Regions from separate parts of the Homo sapiens genome. Here region 1 is linked to region 2. Evidence: promoter capture Hi-C in 16 types of primary human blood cells and fetal thymus (Javierre and others, 2016). All regions are on one chromosome and are shown on one strand. The core of a region is centred on a gene start or on the middle of the fragment in contact, and the rest is flanking DNA. Distances in the headings are between cores, read along the strand shown. Region 1 overlaps GRIN3A (glutamate ionotropic receptor NMDA type subunit 3A). Region 2 holds the start of OR13C5 (olfactory receptor family 13 subfamily C member 5).

The links. The method cuts DNA at HindIII sites, captures the fragments that hold promoters and counts their contacts. A CHiCAGO score of 5 or more calls a contact.
Region 1: a contact is called between a fragment that was not itself captured here and the fragment with the promoter of OR13C5 in region 2, in 1 of 17 cell types (endothelial precursors). The highest score is 5.5, in endothelial precursors.

The regions. Positions count from the first base shown.
Region 1 is chr9:101,585,194-101,590,941 of GRCh38, reverse strand. The region is part of intron 6 of GRIN3A (glutamate ionotropic receptor NMDA type subunit 3A); the gene reads left to right. Among named protein-coding and RNA genes, the nearest start is that of PPP3R2, 6.9 kb to the left of the region's middle. RefSeq lists an enhancer at 4,172-4,221. The HindIII fragment of the contact is 1,225 bases long and covers 3,253-4,477 here.
Region 2 is chr9:104,596,292-104,602,097 of GRCh38, reverse strand. OR13C5 (olfactory receptor family 13 subfamily C member 5) reads left to right here and starts at 2,685. Exons shown (of 1, transcript NM_001004482.1): 1 at 2,685-3,641. The coding sequence starts at 2,685. The coding sequence ends at 3,641. All of the region lies in intron 3 of LOC107987105 (a long non-coding RNA gene), which reads left to right. The HindIII fragment of the contact is 5,863 bases long and covers 1-5,762 here.

The sequences.
Region 1 (5,748 bases), core at 2,616-5,115, 3.0 Mb after region 2:
TTAGAAACATTCTCAAGGAAAAAATATCTTCCAGACATTTTTGTTAATTACAAATTCCTAAGCCACTGTCTGAGGAACAGTATGAATTTTTTAAATGAAGACAATTTTTTATTTAAAAAAAGTATAAATTCCATTCTCTACTTATAGTACTGACTCTTTCTTTCTGTTAAGAGATAGAGTAGGTAGTTAGTCTGCTATGGTGTTATATCTATTTTGAATACTTTGAACAGGAGGAGGCTCGGATGTTTTTAAAAAGAGTGTTGGCCGGGCGCGGTGGCTCATGCCTGTAATCCCCGCACTTTGGGAGGCCGAGGCGGGCAGATCACGAGGTCAGGAGATCGAGACCATCCTGGCCAACATGGTGAAACCCCATCTCTACTAAAAATACAAAAATTAGCTGGGCGTGGTGGCACGTGCCTGTAATCCCAGCTACTCGGAAGGCTGAGGCAGGAGAATTGCTTGAACCAGGGAGACAGAGGTTGCAGTGAGCTGAGATCACACCACTGCACTCCAGCCTGGGTGACAGAGCGAGATTCCATCTCAAAAAAATAAATAAATAAATAAATAAATAAATAAATAAATAAATAAATAAATAGAGTGTCATTATGGTAGAGGAACAAGGCCACCAGACTGAGAATCAGACCGGACTTCTCTGCTGCCGTGTCAACTACCGTACCTACCCCAGTAGCCAATGACTGTGAACTATAAATCATGAATCATCAGGAATTAGCTGATTCATAATGAAAAATTCTAACACTGAAGGGTCACCGTAGTAGCAGTAAAGCTGTGTAGATCAGAAGACAGTCTGACTACTCACAGGCTAACTCTGACCTACAAATGTTTGCTTTCGTTGTTACTGGTTTTACATGGTGTTTGTTCTCACAATGTTTTTTAAAAATTACCAATATTTTAAATAAAACCTTTAAAGATTTTAAATAAAAACCTAAATTACTACAAAGAAATGCAGGTCACTCTAATATGGAGGTAGCTTTTTATTGACTAAGGAGTCTCTGAAATATTGAGATGAAATTAAGAGTTTCAGTGAAGAAAAATTAACATAGTTACACTCTTTGGCACAGAAGTTCAAAATGGACTGAAGGGTTCACTATTTTTTAAAGATATAACACTGGACACAAAATATTTATCCCCATAATCAATATGTTCTAATGCCTGAAACAGTAGAAAAATGTACAATAATCAAAATAAGTATAGCTGTGTAAAACTTCAAACTTTTATATAATAAAATATAACAAAACAAAGAAAACATAAAAAGGGAGAAACATAACATGTTAGCAAAAGGGTTAGCAGTTTTTCAAAAAAAAGCTTCATTGTGTCTGATATGCATAAATAAATATGCAAAAAAGTCATTATATGATTCATTCAAAAGGAGATAGGTAAAACAAACATGGAAAAATAGGCTTGCTAATTCAATAAATACAAATTACAATATTTAAAACAGGAAAAATGAATAATTATAAAACAGTTGGCAAAAATAGAAGCCTTCTAGGCATTGCAGTATCTTTGGTGGCATTGGGAATGGCTTTCACCCTTTTTATGGGTCATTTTACACATCACAAGTCATCAGAACAGTTGTATCCTTTGACCAGGTAATCTCACTCATTGCAATGTATATCTCAAAGAAATAAAAATATTTTAAAATGCTATACATGGCCAGGTGCAGAGGCTCACGTCTTTAATCCCAGCACTTTGGGAGGCCGAGGCAGGTGGATCGCTTGAGGTCAGGAGTTCAAGACCAGCCTGGTCAACATGCTGAAACCCCATCTCTATTAAAAAAATACAAAAATCAGCCAGGCGTGGTGGCACATGCCTTTAGTCCCAGCTACTTGGGAGGCAGAAACAGGAGAATCATTTGAACCAGAAAGGCGGAGGTTGCAGTGAGTTGAGATCGCTCCACTACATTCTGCCCTGGGAGTCACAGTGAAACGCCATCTCAAAAAAAGAAAAAAAAATACTATACACAAAATTTTTATTGTAGCAATATTTGTCGTATATACCATAAATTATAATATTTAAAAAATTAAACAACCACAGTTTGGGAGTAGTCAAGTCAATTATAACAAAAACAATAGGTGATAGTATTAGGCAACTAAAGTTAATAAATAAAATAATATTTAGAAAATAATATTTTTAGAAATATTAAAATAGTTTGTTAGAAAATAAGTTCTTTTAAAAGCATAATGCAAACTTGTTATATCCTATGTTTAGAACTCTGAAGAATATGTGTGCATATGGTCATTGTTCAGAAGAGAAAATGGAGCATTGAAAGTAATTGTTTTATAGTACAAGGATTATGGGTAATCTCACATTTAGTTTTTAAAAATATTTTTCTGAGTCGTTTTAATAATAAATTTTTCAAAAAACTGCACAACAGAGCTAATGTGGCAAATTAAGTACAATTTCAACCCTAAAAGATGGTCGCCCAAGCTTAAAAGAAATGGGGGCTCAAGAATCCCAAGAAACAGGGAGAGAGAAGCATCTTCACAGCAACATGGGCAGTGCCATGTTGATGAGCCACTAAGCAGTTTCCAGGTTAGAGGAATGCAGAGAGTGCTGTCAAAATCCTTGTTTATCCAAATGTGTGAGCACTACTCAGGCTCATGCAGTGTCTCCCTGGATTTTGTGTTAATAAATTATCTCCTCTTCTGTTTCTTTTGTTAAGTGTGATCTTTCACTATGTCTTGGTTAATGAGAAACTTCCAGGTTCTCTGAATGAATCTTTTTTCTCCCTCTTCATGATTCTTGTTAAATATATATGTTTTAATTCCAAATGATTGCACCGCACAATCTTACCTAACTCTCTTCAACCAGACTCTCTCACCTGGGAAACTCTGTCTTTGGTACATCTGGAGCCCACATTTCATGTGGATATCATTCTCCTACTTCTCCCCAACAAGGGGCCATATGTATAGACACAGCAATGAATCTGCCAAGTTCTTTTGAGCAACTAACTATTCTTCTGGGCAAAATAATCAGGAGGCAATAAATAAATAAATAAATAAATAAAATAGATACCAGGTCTTCAAAATTAGAAATAGCATTTGCTTCTTCCTTGTCCTGCTTCCAAGCATCTATGAGTCATCCATATTTCAGAAGCACCACAGCCTTTTTCTTTTCCTTACCTCTCATTAAAATCATTATTTCTCCCCCTGCCACCAGCTCTCTTATTAAGGAAAAAAATTCTTGAACATCGCATTTGGCTGTGCAGATCCAGAGAGGAGATGATACAAAGCTTAGTGCATTAGGTCACTGAAAAATACAATTATTTTCCCAGGTTCTTGCAGTCATTTTGCTCTGGGGAAAAATATTTAATAGGGAATGTCAGAGTAAATGTAATTAAGTTACTTTTCAGACATGTGCTTTTTATTTTTTATTGAACTTACTATATACTAGGCTGCTGGAGACAGGCAAAAGCAACACAGCCTTACCCTGTCAGAGAAGACTTCCTAAAACAGGCTCCACCCGTTCATTTCTGAGATCTGCGTCAGGATACAGTCTATCTCAAAAGAAGTTATATTCACACCTCGGAGCTAGAGGACCTTAATCCTTTAAACAGTACATATATTGAATCAGATTATTTGGTTGCAAGCAACAGATTTTTTTTTTTTTTTTTTGAGATGGAGTCTCGCTCTGTTGCCCAGGCTGGATTGCAGTGGTGCAATTTCAGCTCACTGCAGCCTCTGCCTCCCGGATTCAAGCAATTCTCCTGCCTCAGCCTCCCGAGTAGCTGGAACTACAGGCACCTGCCACCATGCCTGACTAATTTTTGTATTTTTAGTAGAGACAGGGTTTCACCATGTTGATCAGGCTGGTCTCGAACTCCTGACCTCAGATGATCCACTTGTCTCGGCCTCCCAAAGTGTTAGGATTACAGGCGTGAGCCACTGCGCCCGGCTGCAACAGATTTTTAAACTTAAGCAAAACCTATCAAAAGAATAACGGGAAAGCTCAATGTTTTGAAGTAAGAAAGAGAGTGACAGATGAAGCCTCGAACCACAGCACTCCAAGGATGCTAGTGCAGGAACTAGGGGACTATGTCTTTGGGGCACTGACATTGGAAATGACTCATCTCCAAACACCTTTGATATCCAGTGTTTCTGTTTCAGATTCACATTGACTGGCCTTGAGTCTCATGCTTTGCCTGGTGAACAGGGAGCAGGGAGTCTGTGATTGGTAGATACACCAAAACCACATGAAGCAGGAAGAGGGCAGTTCCCCAAAGAAAGGATCCTAAGAAAACAAAATCAATACATTCCTCCTGAAATTTTTGCATTCAGTTTCCAGTGTTTTACTTCAGTAATTTAAAAAATTTTTTGTCCCAGTTTCAACAGTAGATCCCTAGATTGGTGAATATTAGCATGATCAGGTCAGGCTAGCAAAACTGGGCCTTGTTTCCTCTCCTTTTAATTGAGAATGTCCATCTCCACCCTTCTCTCTTAAACAACTGTTCTAGGAAGCTTCTGTGATATAATGAGACTGTTTGGGATCGGGGGTGGGGGAAATTATGCAAATTTATTTTATACAAAAAATCCTAGTTTTCATATGCTTTCATTCATTCATTTAAAAAATATTCACCGTGCTGGGCACTGTTCTAAACAAGAGTATGTATCGAGCAAAATGGACAAAAGTGCTGCCCTCCTGTAGCTTACATTCTACTTTGCTGGGGAAATAGGCAATAAACAAATAAACACATACTATGTCAAGAGAGAAATAAAGCAAAGTAAGAGAGATAGATTGTATCTGAAAGAGGATGGAAGGGGGAAAAGAATTTGCCTTTTTAAGCACAGTGATTAGGGTAAACTTCATGGATAGGTGACATTTGAGAAGAAACCTAAAGAAAGTGAGGGAAGGAGCAATATTGATTCCTGGCAGAAGAGTTTACAGGCACGAACAGAAAATGAAAATACCCTCAAGTGGCAAGTTGCTCAATAGATTTAAGGAACAATAAGGAAGCCCAAATGGCTGAGCAAAGTCAACCAGCGAGAGAGAAGAAGGATATGAGGAAATAGATCTTGTGAGGCCTCATAGCCCATTGCAAGGACTCTGAATTTACTCCGCAAGAGACAGAAAACCATGACCAGGCATTGAGCACAGGAGTGACATGACAGTCATTCTCACTGCTGTGAAGAAGACAGAAGGGGTTAGGGAAAACAACTAGGAGGCTGTCTCAATAATCTAGGTGAGGTGAGAGGGGATGGTGGCTTGGATCAGGGTGGTTGGTGGAGGTGGTGGGATGTTGAATTCTGGATATACTTTGAAGGTCGGTTCCACCATATTTGCAGATACACAGGGTAATGGGATGCTAGAGAAAGACAGGAATCAAAGGTGGTTCTAAGGTTTTTTTCCCTGTGTCATGGCAAGGATGGAGGTTCATTGTGATGAGAAAGACTGTGTAAGCAGCAGGTTTCAGAGGGAAAATTAGGAGTTTGCTTTTAATGTGTTATCTTTGAAATGTCCGTTCATTACCTAAGTAAAGAGGCAGAGTAGGAAGTTAGGACAGAAAAGCCCCCAACTCTTGGGAGTCATTGACATCTGGGTGGTATTTAAAGCTGACTCTGAATGAGAACATGAGTGTAGCTGAAAAACTGAAAGCATGCCTATGTTTACAGTCAGAAAGATGAAGAAGAAAAGCAAAAGAGACTAAGGTACAACAAAGAGAAAGAAGTATCACAAAAACAAAGTTAAGAAACTATACCAAAGAAGATGGAGTAATCAATGGCGTCCAAGCTG
Region 2 (5,806 bases), core at 1,436-3,935:
CAGCATGTTTACTTTTCCACATTGCTTGTCATGACATCTAACACCAGTATTTCTTGGCAGCATATCTATAATGACCAAAGAAACTATTACCTGCTTCTCAACTTTCATAGCAAGTATATAAAATTTCCGGAAAATAACTTAAAAAAGAAAATTAATTTAATTATTTATAAAAGAACCTTGACACCATCACATGTTGTGTCCAAAAATGATGCTTAATCACAATTGATAGGAATTAAATCTTAAATTAGGGGAATACCTGACATTAATTGAGATATGAGAAGGGGAGGAATTTGATATTAGCTCTAATCTTCCAGAAAAGACTATAAAAAATAGATTTTTTTTTTTTTAGTAAAGATAACACTCACTTTACAAAAACAGGGGCTCCTAATTTATGGTGTGTAAGTAAAATTTTATCTTTGAAATTATGAAATTTTTTATGCTGTTTTTGGATGACAAATACCTTTAATTTATTTATATATCTAAAATTCCAAAGGAAATATGTGCTTATTGTAAAATAGTCAAATACAACGAAATGTGCAAACTAGAGAATTATAGGTCATGTTTTCATATTAAAATAAAATGGGGCCGGGCACGGTGGCTCATGCCTGTAACCCCAGCACTTTGGGAGGCTGAGGTGGGCAGATCACTTGAGGTCAGGTGTTCAAGACCAGCCTGGCCAACATGGTGAAACCCTGTCTCTACCAAAAACACAAAAATTAGCCAGGCGTGGTGGCACATGCCTGTAGTCCCAGCTACTCAGAAGGCTGAGACAGGAGAATCACTTGAATCTGGGAGGTGGAGGCTGTAGTGAGCTGAGATCGCACCACTACACTCCAGCCTGAATGACAGAGGGAGACTCCGTCTCAGAAAAATAAATAAATAAATAAATAAATAAATAAATAAATAAATACATAAAATAAAATAGGAAATAAATAGTAAAAATAGAATGAAAATGCTCAGTCACTAAATAATGAAGAAAGATGCTTGGATTTCAGAGGAACTTTACAAACAAAAAAATTATCTAGAAACCAGTAAAAAAATTCCCATAAAATACAAAGTCTATAATAAAACAAAAAGTGCTCTAAGTGCCTTCATTAGAGCAAGAAATAGACGAGTAAGAAGGAGGAAATAAGAATTTGTCTTCTTATTTCAAGAAATTAGAAAAATAGATTTGGAAAATAGAAATTAGAAATCAGAAAATTAGAAAAATAGATCCGAATAAACAAGAAATTTATGAAGATAGAAACTTAATGAAACGCAAAAAGTCAAGAGAATAAATCTATCCTAAAGCTGTTTTTTTTTTTTAAAGACCTGGAATATAGGAAAACCCCTTGTGAGTTGAATAAAGGAAAAAAAAAGTCAAAGAGGCATCATAATGAAAATGAGAAATTTTCATGTAAGGGAGGACACAAGAATTATAATGATCAAATGCAACTCTGTGACAAAACATTTGTTATAGAAATGAGTACTTTTCTAGCAAAATATGAAGCATCAAAATCAACTGCTATCAAATTACCATATTGAAATCCCCTTACTGACCAATCACATTTTTATCTGATATTTCTTTTGAAATATTAATACTGTTAGTGAGATTGCAAGATATTCTAGCCCATGAGCCAAATTCTCTTTGCAAATTCTCTTTAAGCATTAAGTTATTAAGTACTGAGTATTAAGTTTTGAGTATTAAGAGCTCGAATTCTGAAGCCATACTGCTTGGGTTTAAGTCCTTGCTCTTTCATTTATCTGTCTTTATGAAATTGACCTTAAGCAAATTACTTAACTTTTCTGTGCCTTATTTTCCCCTCTACACAATAGGCTTGGTGATACTAAGAGTAACAGTATTACCTCATAGGCTTGCTTTTCAGACTCCATTATGTAATGCACAGAGAAAACAAATAATAGAGGGTTGGCGCAGAGTAAGAAATATAGCAATTGTTTTGCCTTTGATTTTGTCTGTGCATCCAACAAATGTTTTTGAACATTTACCTCGGTGTCTGTTCTATTCTAGCTACAGGGGCTGTGGAAATAAGCAAGAATAAGTACCTGCCCTTATGAAGTTTACATTCTACTGGGAAAGACAGACAATATACGTAACATAGTATAATTTCAAGGAGTGACAAGAGCATTGATCTATTGTGTGGTGATTTATAGCCAATAAAATAGTTTAGTGTTCAGTTTTACATAATACAATGCTCATTTCTATTATAACCTTCAGTTTACTATGTGATGACAAATATGACAAAAAGTTCAGACTTCAACAGGAATATTTCGGTTTGAATCTTAGCTCTGCTATATAGTATGTACCTTTGGTCAAGTTTACTTAACATATCCGCTTTGATTTATTCATCTGTAAAATATGGATACTAATACCCCTTTCCTAGAACTGTGATGATATTAAATGAATTAAGTGGCTGTAGCATGAAACATGTTACTTTTATCTTTCCTTCCTTCTCTCCATTCATTCATTCATTCATTCATTCCCTTCCCTCTCTCCATTCATAATTCCCTCTTTTCTGTAGACTTTTCTTTATGCTCTCTCTTCTTTCTTTGGTCTTTTCCCATTTTATTTTTCTTTTTCCTTGGGAATTATGGCACATATTCATTGACACATGCTTGAAAGTAATCAGAGTAAGATAAATATTTGTCTTAACATGCTCTGTCTTACAAGCTAAAGAGGGAGTAAAATGGAATGGGAAAACCACACCATTCTGGTGGAATTTTTTCTGAAGGGACTTTCTGGTCACCCAAGACTTGAGTTACTCTTTTTTGTGCTCATCTTCATAATGTATGTGGTCATCCTTCTGGGGAATGGTACTCTCATTTTAATCAGCATCTTGGACCCTCACCTTCACACCCCTATGTACTTCTTTCTGGGGAACCTCTCCTTCTTGGACATCTGCTACACCACCACCTCTATTCCCTCCACGCTAGTGAGCTTCCTTTCAGAAAGAAAGACCATTTCCCTTTCTGGCTGTGCAGTGCAGATGTTCCTCAGCTTGGCCATGGGGACAACAGAGTGTGTGCTTCTGGGCGTGATGGCCTTTGACCGCTATGTGGCTATCTGCAACCCTCTGAGATATCCCATCATCATGAGTAAGGATGCCTATGTACCCATGGCAGCTGGGTCCTGGATCATAGGAGCTGTCAATTCTGCAGTACAAACAGTGTTTGTGGTACAATTGCCTTTCTGCAGGAATAACATCATCAATCATTTCACCTGTGAAATTCTAGCTGTCATGAAACTGGCCTGTGCTGACATCTCAGGCAATGAGTTCATCCTGCTTGTGACCACAACATTGTTCCTATTGACACCTTTGTTATTAATTATTGTCTCTTACACGTTAATCATTTTGAGCATCTTCAAAATTAGCTCTTCGGAGGGGAGAAGCAAACCTTCCTCTACCTGCTCAGCTCGTCTGACTGTGGTGATAACATTCTGTGGGACCATCTTCCTCATGTACATGAAGCCCAAGTCTCAAGAGACACTTAATTCAGATGACTTGGATGCCACTGACAAACTTATATTCATATTCTACAGGGTGATGACTCCCATGATGAATCCTTTAATCTACAGTCTTAGAAACAAGGATGTGAAGGAGGCAGTAAAACACCTACTGAGAAGAAAAAATTTTAACAAGTAAATGAGAAAGGTGAGAGTAATTTTATAATCACAATATGGAAATCAATTAGAGAAACCAAGGTTAAACAGATAGGTTCTCGTTGCTGTTTCACATTCATCTCTCGAAGTTCTAAAGCTCCAAAATACACTTCTCTGATTGCGATACATAATGAAAAGAAGTAAATAAATAAATTTCAGTGTTTGGAAATAAGTTTCTATTCTGTTCCATTGGTTGATATGTCTATTTTTATCTGAGTACCATGCTCTTTTGATTACAATAACTTTATAACATATTTTAAAACTGCAGCATATGGTGCTCTCAGCTTTGTTTTTGCTTCAGATTGCTTTGCCCAGGCAGGGTCTTTTCTAGTTCCATGTAAATTTTAGGATTGTTGTTTCAATTTTTATGAAAAATGACATTGGAATTTTGATACAGATTGCATTGAATCTGTAGATTGCTTTAGGTAATATGGACATTTCACAATATTAATTCTTCTAATCCATGAACATGTAATATCTTTCGATTTACTTATGTCTTCTTCAATTTTTTTATCAATGTTTTATAGTTTTCAGTGTATAGTTCTTTTACGTCTTTGGTTGTCTTTTTTATTTTGGAGAGATTGGCAACCAACTCATCTAAAATGATATGTGATCATTAAATAACAAGTAAAAGAATGAGGGTTCAAAACAAAACAACTCTACATTTTTTGCTGGAACATGTTAGCTCTCTTATTAGAAAATTATGTTTATTGGCTTGTATTTTGTGAGATGAGGGGTATATAGTGATGAGTCTATTTTGAGCTTGTACACCTTGGCCTATAACTTATTGTTAACATTAAAATGTAATGGGATAATATCTATAGACAAATAGAAAATTTCAAATAATCCCTTATTCCCCATCATTGCTAGGGATTCGACAGTTCTCTTAAAATTGCCTCATAGCTATACATTTGCACATATACTTCTTTTTGTTCTATGGATTTGTATATGCCATTGCTTTATAAGACATCCTTGATATACTTTTTGCAATTAGCCTTTTCAGGCTCTTACAGACAGCCTCTATTATACTAAAAGCTACGTAAAATGAAATCTTTAAAAATGAGATGTTATTCTCGGTCCCTAAATACTGGGGTAGTTTGAAGATGTCAGGATGTGTTGTCTGCCATGATTCTGAAAAGACTAACATTAAAAGCCATAGTTTTCATTCTCCACTGGCCTGGGGAAACTGATGTTCTGTTATCTATGAAAACCTGGGGGAAAATATATTATTTAATATTATCTTGAGTTATCATAGCCATGAACTACCTTGAGTTCTAAAGATTAAGTCTCCAGGGTTTCCATATATAGTTCATTAAGTGTCTTCTTTATGTGAAGACACTTTGTTGCTCAGACCAATGTCATGGAAATTTGGAGGTTCTGGGGAAATTCTGGAGGCCATGCCCTGCATACAGAATGAATGCTGATCTAAGGTAAACTAGAGCTACAAGGAACTAAAGTCATGTGCCATTTAACAACGTTTTGATCAATGACAGATAACATATAATGGTGGTCTCAGGAGATTATAATTTTATATTTTTACTGTGACTTTTCTTGTTATTTTAGATACACAAATACCATTGTGACACAATTGCCTATAGTGTTCAGTACAGTAGCATGCTGTACAGCTTTGTAGCCTAGGAGCAATAGGCTATGCTATGTAGCCTCAGTGTATAATAGGCTATATCATCTAGGTTTGCATAAATATACCCTGTGATGTTTACAACATAATAAGATTTGACAATTATGCATTTCTCAGACTGTACCCCTGTTTTTATGACTGTAATATTTTTTCATGCTGAAATCTCCATGAGTCTAAAGAACATTACTCTCTGTAATACTCTTTAAATTTGCAGACATGTAGATTTGTGTCTAGTTTTCCTAGACCCCATGGAAAATGTTGGTCAGAAACATACAGTTTTTAAAGTATTTAGCTGCTGTTACATTTTGGCAGAATATTTAATAAATAGATCCATACTTATTAAAAAAAGAGGTATGCTCAGTTTTTAATGTTTGGATCCAGTTAGAAGGGATGTCAGCTTATTGTTAATAACACTGACTCAATTAGTATAGATAACCTTTTCATCTTCTCAAAAAAAAGAAAGCTTTATCCTCAAGTATATTTTTTCACCTTAAGTTTTCAAATGCTTC